Linked DNA regions of Homo sapiens: all the other regions are linked to region 1. The links are contacts of gene promoters, found by promoter capture Hi-C in blood cells and fetal thymus (Javierre and others, 2016). All regions are on one chromosome and are shown on one strand. The core of a region is centred on a gene start or on the middle of the fragment in contact, and the rest is flanking DNA. Distances in the headings are between cores, read along the strand shown.

Region 1 (2,862 bases), core at 41-2,540:
ATCTACACGACGGGCATCCCATCTGCTACTGCACCAGGTTCTTGTGGCAATAACTTGAACTCACACATGCAAACAGGCTTTGTGAGCTCCATAAACACAGGTGGCTCGGCCAGGTGTGGTGGCTCATGCCTGCAACCCCAGCACTTTGGGAGGCCAAGGTGGGAAGATCCCTTGAGCCCAGGAGTTGGAGACCAGCCTGGGCAAGACGATGAAATCCTGTCTCTACCAAAAAAAATAATAATAATTAGCCAGGCATGGTGGCACACACCTGGTCCCAGCTCCTTGGGAGGCTGAGGTGGGAGGATCACTTGGGCCCAAGAGGTCAAGGCTGCAGTGAGCTGAGATTATAACACTCCAACCTGAGTGGCAGAGTGAAACTGTCTAAAAAATAAAAATAAAAATACATCAAAAAACAGGTAGCTATTAAGCATTGCTAGGACCCACACGCAGTGACCCTGAGGGTGCTGGGTTTCTGTTTGAGGGAGAAGAAACTCCTGAGCCCCTAGGTATTGTGGGGGACATGCAGTTCCAGACCGCCTTCATGGCCTGTATGCCTGGCCTCATCCCCATCCCTGGCACCCATGACGATAGCCACATTCCACTGGTGTTTCCCCAGGAAAGCCAACCCTACCTGCATCTCAGCAGAGCTTCCACGGAGTTGGAACCCCGCTCCGAGAGGGTGTGGGCTCAGGGGCCAGGGGTCACACAAACTCCAGAAGGAGGACGTAGTTGGTTTGCAAGGCTGTCCTTTGCCCTGGTTGAATAACCTTTGGTCTTCCCCGAGAGGAACGTGGGCATTAGGCTGCAGCCCACAGGAAGCTATGTATTTTCTGAGAAACTTGGCCCATGGTGCAGATCTGCTCCAGCTCACTCTGGTGGGATCACGCCAGCCACGGCCGGGCCACGGCACATCATGGCAACGTGCTGCCCACCTGCTACGCCACCTGTTTTTCTAGAGGCGGACGTGATCCCAGCAGGACTGGAGTCAGCCCAGGGCATCACGTGCTCTGGTCCCCGCCTGCTTTGACTCCTCCTGCCTCACTCCCCCCCTGGCCTGTAGTCACGTTGGTGAGGGTGGTGGGCACCGGGGCTGGGCCCAGCCCCCGACCCTGCCCAGACAGACTTTCCTAAGGCACCCTTTTCCTCGTGCAGGTGCGGCCTCAGCCCACCCCCCTTTGAGCCCACAGATTGCACCCCTCTGGTGTGCGGTTACCTCTTGCCTATGTTTAATTCATGGCTGGGGGGTTGGGACGAGCTTCCCAAGAAAGGAAAGAACTCCCCTGGGGTCTTGCCCAGTTTCTGCTCACCAGAAGGACCATAGCCGAGGTCCTCCTCCCAGGGCCCGGGGCTGGGGAGCGGAAGCCATCAGTGGGCTCGGAGGACACTGTCCCAGCCAGGACACGGCCATCGGTCACTAATCTGCAGCACTGGAATGTCCGCAGGCCAATCAGCGGGGTCTCTGGGGGCTCCCCAAGGGTGCTAATAATCCCACAATGATTAGCAGGGGCCGCGGGTCAGTGCACGCCACTCTGCCTGCTGTCGGGGGCGGGCTGGCCAGGCCGAGGCCGGAGCAGGCAGGCATCCCCCGGAGTTGTCTCTTTTCATGCCAGCGCCAACAGGAGGCTGTCTGGACACACTGATTACTCACTCACCAGCCTCCCTCTTTTGTCCACCAGCCCAGCCTGACTCCTGGAGATTGTGAATAGCTCCATCCAGCCTGAGAAACAAGCCGGGTGGCTGAGCCAGGCTGTGCACGGAGTGCCTGACGGGCCCAACAGACCCATGCTGCATCCAGAGACCTCCCCTGGCCGGGGGCATCTCCTGGCTGTGCTCCTGGCCCTCCTTGGCACCGCCTGGGCAGAGGTGTGGCCACCCCAGCTGCAGGAGCAGGCTCCGATGGCCGGAGGTAAGGGACACCTGGTGAGGAGGTAGGTGGAGGCACCATTATGAGCTCTGAGGAGTGGGTGCTAGGAGACTTCTGGAAGCCCGGTCCCAGGCCTGAGCCCCAGGCCGTGCGGGTGGTTTAATGAGGAAGCCCTGGGACAGCCCGGGGGCGGTGAGGGGTGGATGCTGGACTGGGGAGGAAGGAGGAGGAAGGAGGACCAGGGCTGGGGTCAAGGAGGAACGCCGAGGAGCGCTGTGGCTGGGGCCTGGAGAAATCCGTGGCCCGGAGGAGCCCCAGACAGGGGCCTGCGGGAGCCAGGGCTGGCCCCTACACCCAGCCCGCACCGCTGTTCCCTCCCGCCACCCCAACCCCAGCACTCAGCCCACGCCTGCTGTACCTGGTCTCTCTCTCAGCCTCGCTCCATTGCTATGCCCCACGTCCCCTGCACCCACCACACTCCTCTCCCATCTTGTTTTCCAAGGGCAGGGACACATGCTTATTCTGCCGTGTGTTGGGTTCAGGTCCCCCCATCCTCGGGCTGCCTGACCTTCTCTCTCCACCCCAGCCCTGAACAGGAAGGAGAGTTTCTTGCTCCTCTCCCTGCACAACCGCCTGCGCAGCTGGGTCCAGCCCCCTGCGGCTGACATGCGGAGGCTGGTGAGTACCCGACCCAGCTGGGCTCTGCCAGGGGGGTGGCCGGAGGCGCGGACCCCAGAGGGCGGCTCAGGAGGCCACGCCTGTCCAGGTGCCCTTCCACTTGACCAGGGTGGGCAGGCACAGCCAGCCACCTTGCCCCTGAGGGACGGAGGCCCTGGTTGCTGGGGGTCTCTGCAGTTTCTTAACCCCCCACCCTCAGTTCAGGAGGTCGGGCCCCTTGGCTCCCACTCGCCTGAAGGGCAGGACCTTGGGCCTTCCCTGGCATCTTGTTGCCACAGAGACCAGGAGCCACAGGAGGAGCCGGATCCCCTCCTCCAGGG
Region 2 (2,700 bases), core at 170-2,669, 4.3 Mb after region 1:
AAAAATGCCTACCATGAAATCTTATATACCTGTAAGAGGCAGGCCATACCATTGGCTCTAGAAGTTTTAATAAGCAACAGGAAGAGGGAAAATAATCAATTACAAAATACAATAACTATAATGCAAACACAAACTCACTGCCAACTATTCCTGATACAAAGACCAGAGAGAAAATTTTCCTGAGAATTTCTTCCAGAGAAAATATTGAACAATACAACAAATCACATCTGTAAGGTAAAGAGAGATGGATTTTATGGTGTTTGTACTCTGCATAAAATGTTAAACATTAACATCATCATTATTGTAAGACAAACAGAAAGCGATGTCACCTACCTGTCCAGTCTCTGTTTTCTCACTGCACCATTTTCCCAGATCAATCAGGCACTTATCCTGGAGGGCAGGATCCAGCTTGACATCCATGGCACGCTGGTGTAGGATCCTTTGGACTTCAGCTCGGCACTCCCGTGAGAGCTGCATGAGAAAAAATGAGCTAAATACTTGAAAGGTAACAAAACAAAAACACAAAGATATGAGATAAACCTGCTATGAGGAAACTAACAAATAACCCTGTATTTTATCTCCCAAATTTTATACCTCAAATATCTTCCAGAATAAAAATTAAATGTTGCGGCCAGGTGCGGTGGCTCACGCATGTAATCCCAGCACTTTGGGAGGTCGAGGCGGGCGGATCACCTGAGGTCGGGAGTTTGAGACCAGCCTGACCTACATGGAGAAACCCTGTCTCTACTAAACACACAAAATTAGCCAGGCATGGTGGCACATGCCTGTAATCCTAGCTACTCGGGAGGCTGAGGCAGAAGAATCGCTTGAACCCGGGAGGTGGACATTGTGGTGAGCTGAGATTGCACTACTGCACTCCAGCCTGGGCAACAAGAGCGAAACTCCGTCTCAAAAAAATAAATAAATAAATAAATAAATAAATAAATAAATAAAATGTGCAAGAGGCTTCGAAAAGCCCATATCTTTAGCAATGCGATTATACATATTCAGCAGTTTCTAATATACTATATAAACAACATTCTTTTATGACAGTATCCTGATAAAAGTGAACTGGCTTCATTCAGACTAGGTTAGTTGGAAAGTTTTGTGTTTGTTGTTTTGCTTAGCAAAACTAATGTGTCAGTCTATGAACACCAGGTAGAAGGTCAGATCCAATTCAAGAGAGCATATACACTTGACTCAGGAGAAATGAGTTCAAATTGACCTAAATCAGAAAAAGCAGGAAAATGTAGATATAACATTATGAGATAGGACTGGACTCTTCTAGATGAGCTATGAAGAATTAGCAGAGGGTAAAGCAGGTGAAAACTAGTATTTTTCCAAGGGCCATGACAAAGCTGTTATTGACAGATACAGTTAGTCTCTCTTGCAAAAAAAGAAAAAAAAGCCAGCATACCTGGGGCAGGAGGGATGGAAAGTAACTGTTTAATGAACACAGGGTTTCCTTTTGGAGTCATGGAGTGTTTTGAAACTAGACAGACATGATGACCACACAACACTGTAAATGTACTAAATGTCACTGAATTTTTCTCTTTAAAATGGTTAAGACCAGGAGCGGTGGCTCACACCTGTAATCCCAGCTCTTTGGGAGGCTGAGGCGGGCAGATCACCTGAGGTCTGGAGTTCGAGACCAGCCTGACCAATATGGAGAAACCCCATCTCTACTAAAAATACAAAAATTAGCCGGGCGTAGTGGCGCATGCCTGTAATCCCAGCTAATCTGGAGGGTGAGGCAGGAGGCGGAGATTGTGGTGAGCCGAGATCACACCACTGCACTCCAGCCTGGGCCAACAAGAGTGAAACTCCGTCTCAAAAAAAAAAAAAAGGGGGGGGTTATTTTGGCCAGGCGCAGTGGCTCACACCTCTAATCCCAGCACTTTGGGAGGCCCAGGTGAGTGGATCACCTGAGGTCAGGAGTTCAAGACCAACCTGGCCAACATGGAGAAACCCCGTCTCTATTAAAAATCCAAAAAAAAAAAAAAAAAAAAAAAAAAAGCCAGGCATGACGGCAGGCACCCGTAATCCCAGCTACTCGGGAGGCTGAGGCAGGAGAATCACTTGAGCCAGGAGGAAGAGGTTGCAGTGAGCCAAGATCACACCACTGCACTCCAGCCTGGGGTGCAGTGAGACACATTCAAGAGTGAGGCTTTGTCTCAAAAAAAAAAAAAAAAAAGGTTAATTTTATGTTATGTGAATTTCACCTCAATTTAAAAAAAAAAAGAAAAGAAAACCAGCACCACAGACTCCAACTCTTTCTTATTTAAAAGAGAATAAACCTCCTACCCCCTAGTCACTATAGTGACCAGAAAGATGCCGGGATGTGGGAGCCCCCATGGTTAATGAGAGGCTCATTATATGGAGAGAAAAAAAAAAAAAAAACAAATTCCCACGTTTTCTCACACAGCAGTATAAACACTGGGTTAGGGAGCAGCAACTGATGTATGCCATTTCCTTCTGAGTCCCCTCATTCTGGATTTGAGATAGCCAGGCTTTTGCATTAAGCTCAGAAGGGGTATTTCTAAGGATGGATGAGAAGTGATACCATCTCAACTCTCCGGAACAAAGGCAGGACTGATAATGGAGCATCTCAGAAGGTAGAGAAAGCCATCGTGGAGAACAAGTGCATGTCAGTGCGCACCGGGAAGCAGCCGATGCTGCCGAGACCCCAGCACACACAAA
Region 3 (2,700 bases), core at 201-2,700, 4.3 Mb after region 1:
AGTTTCGCTCTTGTCACCTAGGCTGGAGTGCAATGGCGCTATCTCAGCTCACTGCAACCTCTGCTTCCCAGGTTCAAGTGATTCTCCTGCCTCAGCCTCCCAAGTAGCTGGGATTATAGGTACGCGCCACCACGTCTGGCTAATTTTTGTATTTTTAGCACAGATGGGGTTTCACCATGTTGGCCAGGCTGGTCTTGAACTCCTGACCTCGTGATCCACCCGCCTCAGCCTCCCAAAGTGCTGGGATTACAGGTGTGAGCCACCAAGCCCAGCCACTATTGGTGTTTTAGCTCCCAGGTGCTACAGATTGTTTGTTCCAAGTTTTGACTCCCCTCTGAAAACTGCCTGCTTTTGTTCAGTTTCCAGAGCTCTTGAGTAGTTCTTTTCTCAATATTATCCAGAGCAAGTAAGTATTTGAAAGAAGATGGCTTGTTAGCTTTCTCCTCTAAAATGGAAGTGATAACCCATCTCCCAAATACTTCACCTTTTATATCATCAATCCTTTTTTTTTTTTTTTTTGAGACCAAGGCTAGGAGGCTAAAGTGCATCTTGGCTCACTACAACCTCCACCTCCTGGGTTCAAGTGATTCTCCTGCCTCAGCCTCCCAAGTAGCTAGGATTACAAGCATGTGCCACCATGCCTGCCTAATTTTTGTATTTTTAGTAGACGCGGGGTTTCACCATGTTGGCCAGGCTGGTCTCAAACTCACTGCAAGTGAGCCTCTGGCCTTGGCTTCCCAAAGTGCTGGGATTACAGGCATGAGCCACTACACCCAGCCTAGAGATCAGTCTTATTTATAGCTTTGTTTTTTGGTAAAACGTACTAATAATGAAAAGCACAAGTGAATCATTTCTCTTTTTACGTGATTTTTTGGGAACATAGTGATGCATATGTGTGCTTTGCTCCATAAGGCAATACTTCTCTTAAAGTCCACCTAACTAAAAATGGAAAATTCTTATGCCTGTAATCCCAGCACTTTGGGAGGCTAAGCGGGGTGTGGATCACGAGGTCAGGAGTTCGAGACTAGCCTGGTCAACATAGTGAAACCCCATCTCTACTAAGAAAAATACAAAAAATTAGCCGGGCATGGTGGCGCACGCCTGTAATCCCAACTACTCAGGAGGTTGAGGCAGAAGGATCTCTTGACCTCAGGAAGCGGAGGTTGCAGTGAGCCAACATTGAACCACTGCACTCCAGCCTGGGCGACAGAGCTAGACTTTGTCTCAAAAAAAAAAAAAAAAAAGAAAATTCTTGCTTTTCTTCCTCTCCTTCCCCTTGGGGTTTGGTTTTAGGCTCTCTGATGATAGCCTATGATCACAATGCTTATGTAAAACCACTCTGGCTTTATCTGCTGATTGATCAGTTCCAACAGCCCCATAGAGCTGTGGGTTTCCTGTTTCATATCTGACAGTGGTCATTCTCAGAATAGTCTTTTCCTATCAACATGTAATTAAATCCTTTTACTGCTGCTCTTGTGAACACTTTTGAACACTGACAGTTACACTGATATGTAACTGAGCAAACTTCGCTTTGCCTTTATTTTAAAGTTGCCTGTGCTCATCAGGCGATCTGATACTCCACATCGAGAAGCTCCAACCTCAGGGTTGTGGGAGTGTTTTTAATTGTTTCCTGCGTTTCCTACCAGGCATTGCCAAGTGACTAGACTTAACCTTCTCAGGAAGACTCGAATGCTTTCCCCTCTCTTACCCTACCCCGTCATTAAGGCATAGCAGATCCTCGAGTTGACCTTTCATACTACTGACTCTCACGTCAGTCTGCCCGTTGGTCAGTTTATGCTTAGTGACTTGTCCTTCAGTTAGGAGACTTATGTTTTCTTGTTTGTTTTTTTGAGACAAAGTCTCACTCAGTCACCCAAGCTGAGTGCAGTGGTGCAATCACGGTCACTGCAGTCTTGACCTGCTGGCTCAAGCGATCTTCCCACCTCAGCCTCCTGAGTAGCTGGGACTACAGGCGTGCACCACCACATCCAGATAAATTTTTTTAAGAGATGGGGTCTCACTATGTTGCCCAGGCTGATCTCAAACTCCTGGCCTCAAGTCATCCTCCCACCTCAGCCTCTTTTTTTTCCCTGCGAGTTGCAATTATAGCTGAGTGAAACAAACTGTAACCGAATGAAAGCAACGACAACAGAATCCTCCCCAGGAAGCAGCTGATTAGACAGGGCCAAACGCACAGACATCTTGACAACCTGTAACCAGCAAGTTCTGGCAAGTTATTGATGGAGGCTCTTTGAAGTTCAGCCAAAGTTGGGATCCACTTGGCTGGGCACGGTGGCTCACTTGAGGTTAGGAGTTTGAGACCAGCCTGGCCAACATGGTCAAACTCTGTCTCTACTAAAAACACAAAAATTAGCTGGGCATGGTGGTGCATGCCTGTAATCCCAGCTACTTGGGAGGCCAAGGCAGGAGAATCGATTGAACCTGGGAGGCGGAGGTTGCAGTGAGCTGAGATTGCGTCACTGCACTCCACCCCGGGTGACTCTGTCTCAAAAAAAAAAAAAAAAAAAAGGGCTGGGATCCACCTACTAATTATTTTACAGTTTCCTTCTCTGCGGCAGAGTGAGAGCAACAGAAAACCCTCCACTGTTAGCTGTTAGCAGATGCCTCTCAGTGTTCTCTGCTGCTTGGAGGAGTGACCCATACACTTGTGTCCAGTGAGTGCTGCACCATGTTGGCCTC
Region 4 (2,700 bases), core at 148-2,647, 4.1 Mb after region 1:
GGGACATATGGGTCATGTTACAAGGTGAAGCTCAAGAAGAATTAGTGCCTGTAAAGGTTACCAAGAAATCCCACAACACTGTTAAAGGTTCTGACCATCCTGGCATCCAAAGCAAAGAGGAGAATGCCCCTTGCAGGATTAACACTATCCTAAATAAAATAATCACGGCTAACTTTTATAGTACTTAGTGTGAGTTGAGTGACTTTCCCAAGGTCTTGGAGCTCGCCTATTACATACATGGCAGAGCCAAATTTGAACCCAGGTAGCCTGGCTGTGGAGCCTGTACTCTTACCACTATGCTGTCCTTCCTCCCTTACAGACAGTTTACAGCCTTTTGACAGGAGACGTACAGCCTCTTCTGGCACAAGGTCTGAGAAAAGTATCTTCGAAGTCCCTTCAGGATGTCACTGGGTGACCACCATGAACCATGTCCCCAATGGATCCTTTGATTAATTCAGACCACCAGAAAGCCAACTATTCTGATTGCATTGGTTTGGGCACTGTGGAATCGTTTGATCCAAGAGACAAAAAAGGGCTAAAAGTTTTATTTTCTGGCATGAACTTGCTTCAGTACAGATATTCTGTATATTGTCCATTCTAGAAAGAACTATATACTTTTTTTTTTTTTAAGACAATCTCACTCTGTTGCTCAGGTTGGAGTGCAGTGGCGTGATCTCGACTCACTGCACCCTCCACCTCCCAGGTTCAAGTGATTCTCGTTCCTCAGCCTCCAGAGTAGCTGGGATTACAGGCGCCCGCCACCACACCTGGCTAGTTTTTGTATTTTTAGTAGAGAGGGGTTTTCGCCATGTTGCCCAGGCTGGTCTCGAATTCTTGGCGTACCAAAGTGCTGAGATTACAGGTCCGTGCCTGGCCAAAGCGGTATACTTTTAAGAATCAACCTGAGACCTCCCTGTGCGTTCATGCCAAGTGTGGGCTTGAGGGAATTTCCAGATTTTTCTCAACGCACAGTGCCCCAGCAGACTGCATCACTGAGCAGCACCACAGTGATGTTAGCTTTGAAGGCTAAGCTTTCAAAGTAAGCCTTACCCACCCTTGCCATAGAAAATTCTCAGTCATGCACTCATTAAATGAGCTGACTTAAAGCAAAAGACTCAGGGTGCGAAAAGGAACACATGTCAGTTCGTTTGTGGAAAATAAATAATTATAGTTAGGCTTCCTCTCCCAGGATGGAACTCCAACCTCGAAAACATTTGAACACGTGACCAGTGAAATTGGAGCAGAGGAAGCTGAGGAAGTTGGAGTTGAACACTTGTTACGGTGAGACCCTAGTACAGCATCAAAATCATTCACTGCCCGAGAGGTCACACAGTGTAAGGAAGAGGTCTGTGTCGGGAATATGGAGACCTGGGGTCTCGTCCTGGCCGTCCACTAACAAGTCTGCCATTCTGAGCAAATCACAGTCCCTTTCCAGACCTTTGTTTTATTGTCTGTAAATTGAAGTGTTTGAACTACATCAACTGTAAAATGTCTTGAGTTACAATTTATGACTTTGTGGATAGCATACCTTGTCTGGAAACTATAATGTTGACTGACGGGAAGAGAGGTATGAAATAAATGCAGGCCTGCACTCTCCACTAGGTGTCCTTCTCAACAAATGTAGCCCATTTTCTGGAGAGAATCTTCATCTTGGAGTAGCTTTTGTTTTAAAATCCTATATCTATTATAATCCTTATTTGAAAAAGGTTATAGTTTTATCAGTCAATGAGGTTCCTTCTAGTTCTAAAAATTACCATCTTAGTTAAGCTTCTCAATATTCTGGAGATGCATGTAGAGAAAATGCCATCCTTTTAGGAACAGGAAAGCTGAGAGAGACAGCTTCAGTACAAGGTTACCCAGAAAGTTATTGGTAGATCTGAACTGTTGACCTAAGCAATTTTTTTTTCCTTAAGTGGAAATGGTTTTATTTTAGCTCCCTTTTATAATTGTTTTTTGAAAAATGTCCTGTGATGAGAAAGATAAAATGTGTTCCAAATGATAACGAAATTAAGGTAATTGATAACGAAATCTTTATCAAATGGGGAAGTGACATTTTTCTTTTAAAAACTTGCCTCACCCAACAAAGCTAGGAATTTTCTTAGAATGTAAGAACTTGCCTGATAACATGGTACCCTGATGCCTTTTCCTGCCCTTTTTAACTGTGGGTTATTACAGAGATATCAAAGACACGACGGTGGGCACTCTGTCCCAGCGGATCACAAACCAGGTCCATGGTTTGAAGGGACTGAACTCCAAGCTTCTGGATATCAGGAGCTACCTGGAAAAAGTCGCCACAGGCAAGCTGCCCATCAACCACCAGATCATCTACCAGCTGCAGGACGTCTTCAACCTGCTGCCAGATGTCAGCCTGCAGGAGTTCGTCAAGGCCTTTTACCTGAAGACCAATGACCAGATGGTGGTAGTGTACTTGGCCTCGCTGATCCGTTCCGTGGTCGCCCTGCACAACCTCATCAACAACAAGATTGCCAACCGGGATGCAGAGAAGAAAGAAGGGCAGGAGAAAGAAGAGAGCAAAAAGGATAGGAAAGAGGACAAGGAGAAAGATAAAGATAAGGAAAAGAGTGATGTAAAGAAAGAGGAGAAAAAGGAGAAAAAGTAAAACATGTATTAAATAGCTTTTTTAATTTGTAAATTAAAATCTTACAAACTAAATCAGTGTGCTGCTAGAGGGTTCTTTTT
Region 5 (2,700 bases), core at 87-2,586, 4.2 Mb after region 1:
CCCACTACAAATGGACAGGTTGATTTGTGGGTGGGAAGGGGAACAGAAATAAAAATGAGCAAGTTCAGCCTCTTGAGATTAATTCCAAGTGGCTTATGTGTGCTCTTGCTACAGTGTCAGGTGTGGGAAGTCAGCCTGCTTTAGTTCAATTATTTGGATGGGGAGCAATACTACATTTTTTAAGACATAAAAATTACTTTGAGATCAAAGGAAGAGATATTTACCAGCTAGTCAAAGGAGCTCATGGGAACCAAAGGAGGTCCTTTTGATAAAACGCCTGGGCTCAGCTACAAACCCCAAATAGCAATCACTAAATGAACTTCACGTGGCAAAAGTATTTCTTAGTTCACTTCGGGATCATAGCATGGAAGGCAAGAGCCAATCTGCTTTAAAAGAAGCAGTGTCCCGGAAATTAGTGTCCACATTCCTGACACAATAAAATAGCCTAATATGTTATTTGCTAGGTTGTAGAATGAAATGTAACACCAAGACCCAGCGCCAAGGATTCACGTCAATGCCTGACCATTTGCTGGCCTTCCTGACCAGGATAGCACCCATCAACCCAGTGTGGAGGAAGGACAAGGTCACACAGGCTTCTATTTGCAGACTAAGTGTAGGTTTCTGATTTAGAATACCCTACAAGAAACAGCATAGTTACTGATATCTGTGTAATGAATCACAATACTAACCTTACTTCTCTACACCAAAAAAATCTTGGAGACATACGTTAAATAAGAAAATCAGTGTTGGTGCTGACCTACCTGGCCAGCACAGTTGACAAAATACTGGCATTCAATCTGTCCTTTATCGGTCTCCACTCCAGTAACTTGACCTTTTTTGCCCATTACTTGAAGAACAGATGTCCGGTCATAGATCTGAACACCTGTTCCAAGGTAAAGAAAGAGTTGGTGCTTCATCTGATGTTCCAGAATGAAGGCATGTGCAGCAGGTTCTCCACCCAGAAGAAACACTGACAAAGTCAAGTCAATGCTTTAATTTATTTTTTTATTTTATTTTTGAGACGGAGTCTTGCTTTGTCGCCAAGGGTGGAGGGTAGTGGTGTGATCTTGGCTCGCTCTCTGCCTCCTGGGTTCAAGCAATTCTCCTGCCTCAGCCTCTCAAGTAGCTGGGATTACAGGCATGCACCACCATGTCCTGCTAATTTTTGTATTTTTAATAGAGATGGGGTTTTACCATGCTGGTCAGCCTGGTCTTGAACTCCTGGCCTCAGGTGATCCGCCTGCCTTGGCCTCCCAAAGTGCTGGGATTACAGGCATGAGACACCACGCCCGGCTCAATGCTTTCATTTAAAAAAAAACACAAAACCCTAGAATCACATCCTGAGACTATGTAAATGGGCCTTGTTCGAGATTGAAAATAGCAAGTCAGTTTAAAAACAGACTTTGGAACACAATAATTAAATTCCTGGAATCATAAACTATGGAGCAAAGAGGAGAGGATGTAAATAGTGCGCCTTAAGTGCTAACCTGCTCATACCATGGATATGATACCCTGGACACTAGTTAAGTCTTCCCCTCATTCAATGCAACTGGGCTTATGATTTCAGGTGTGGATTAAACTTCCAAGGTGTGTTTTCACCTTGAGCTTCTCAAGTCCTGTGGGGGAAAATATTACCTTAAGTCCAAAGGGCATTAATTGGCAGGGCACAGTGGCTCACGCCTGTAATCCCAGCACTTAGGGAGGCCGAGGCAGGTGGATCATCTGAGGTCAGGAGTTCAAGACCAGCCTGGCCAATACGGCGAAACCCCGTCTCTACTAAAAATACACAAAAAAATTACCTGGGTGTAGTGGCGCACGCCTGTAGTCCCACCTACTCGGGAGGCTGAAGCAGGAGGATCACATGAACCCAGGAGGCGAACGTTGCAGTGAGCCAAGATTGTGCCACTGCACTCCAGCCTGGGCGAAAAGAGTGAAGCTCCGTCTCCAAAAAACGGGCATTAATTAGCACTAAAAGCAGTTCTTTAGAACTTTAAAAATGTGGCCCTGAGGGAAAACACTCATTAACAGATAAATAAAATTATAAGTGTTCAAAATGGAGGCTGAGTACCCCAAAGAGGATAATCTTTCCAAACTTGAGTTGGTGTCACTTCCTACTGTGAGACACTTCCTTAGGTAATGTCTTCCCTGCTAACCTATCTTAAGAAAATGCAAAAACCTGCTCACCATTTTGGGAGGCAGCACTTGCCAGGGCAAGAGCCACGTCAGCGGAAGACACCACTGCATCCTCAGGAACATGCATGGCCCCCACCAGGTCGTGCACGTTGAGGAGATGGTGAAGCTCGGCCACTTTCTTGGGGGAGATGATCTCAGAAGGGATACCTATAACACTGCCACAGAACACAAGGGACAATGACATTCACAGGCTCTTTGGCAGAGGCCAGTGTGGTAAAGTCAGGACACGCTTCTAGACTCTTACGTACTTCAGCCCTGCGTTGATGCGCTTCAGGGAGATCAGTCGGTCCTGAGTTTGGGCCAGAAAGATTGAGCCTGTCCTTGTGTAACCTGTAAGAAAAATGAGCCCAAATGAGACAGATCAGACCAAATGTAGGACGGGAGAGTGGAAAATCCACTAGATTATAAGTTAGAAGGCCTGTGATGAATCCTGGGACTGCCACTCAATATCCTTGGGCAGGTAAATCAGCTTCTCTGAGCTTCTTTGCAAAATTTTAAGAACTTCAG

The links. Contacts are between HindIII fragments. The CHiCAGO score rates a contact against its expected background, and 5 or more counts as called.
Region 2: a contact is called between a fragment that was not itself captured here and the fragment with the promoter of CLEC18C in region 1, in 1 of 17 cell types (M1 macrophages). The highest score is 8.7, in M1 macrophages.
Region 3: a fragment that was not itself captured here is called in contact with the fragment with the promoter of CLEC18C in region 1 in 1 of 17 cell types (M2 macrophages); the score reaches 8.0 in M2 macrophages.
Region 4: a fragment that was not itself captured here is called in contact with the fragment with the promoter of CLEC18C in region 1 in 10 of 17 cell types (M1 macrophages, erythroblasts, M2 macrophages and 7 more); the score reaches 27.0 in M1 macrophages.
Region 5: a fragment that was not itself captured here is called in contact with the fragment with the promoter of CLEC18C in region 1 in 1 of 17 cell types (M1 macrophages); the score reaches 8.9 in M1 macrophages.

Annotation. Positions count from the first base shown.
Region 1 is chr16:70,172,497-70,175,358 of GRCh38, forward strand. It overlaps CLEC18C (C-type lectin domain family 18 member C), which reads left to right and starts at 1,291. Exons shown (of 13, transcript NM_173619.4): 1 at 1,291-1,455; 2 at 1,677-1,906; 3 at 2,451-2,542. The coding sequence starts at 1,783. It overlaps LOC400541 (a long non-coding RNA gene), which reads right to left and starts at 952. Exons shown (of 3, transcript NR_126007.1): 1 at 632-952. The HindIII fragment of the contact is 29,094 bases long and covers 1-2,862 here.
Region 2 is chr16:74,477,063-74,479,762 of GRCh38, forward strand. GLG1 (golgi glycoprotein 1) reads right to left here. Exons shown (of 26, transcript NM_001145667.2): 12 at 334-471. Among named protein-coding and RNA genes, the nearest start is that of CLEC18B, 57 kb to the left of the region's middle. The HindIII fragment of the contact is 2,859 bases long and covers 1-2,700 here.
Region 3 is chr16:74,437,219-74,439,918 of GRCh38, forward strand. No RefSeq gene overlaps it. Among named protein-coding and RNA genes, the nearest start is that of CLEC18B, 17 kb to the left of the region's middle. The HindIII fragment of the contact is 7,294 bases long and covers 1-2,700 here.
Region 4 is chr16:74,303,114-74,305,813 of GRCh38, forward strand. It overlaps PSMD7 (proteasome 26S subunit, non-ATPase 7), which reads left to right. Exons shown (of 7, transcript NM_002811.5): 6 at 1,190-1,281; 7 at 2,176-2,700. The coding sequence ends at 2,620. Among named protein-coding and RNA genes, the nearest start is that of PSMD7, 7.6 kb to the left of the region's middle. The HindIII fragment of the contact is 736 bases long and covers 1,030-1,765 here.
Region 5 is chr16:74,349,856-74,352,555 of GRCh38, forward strand. It overlaps the pseudogene PDPR2P. Among named protein-coding and RNA genes, the nearest start is that of NPIPB15, 25 kb to the right of the region's middle. The HindIII fragment of the contact is 3,869 bases long and covers 1-2,700 here.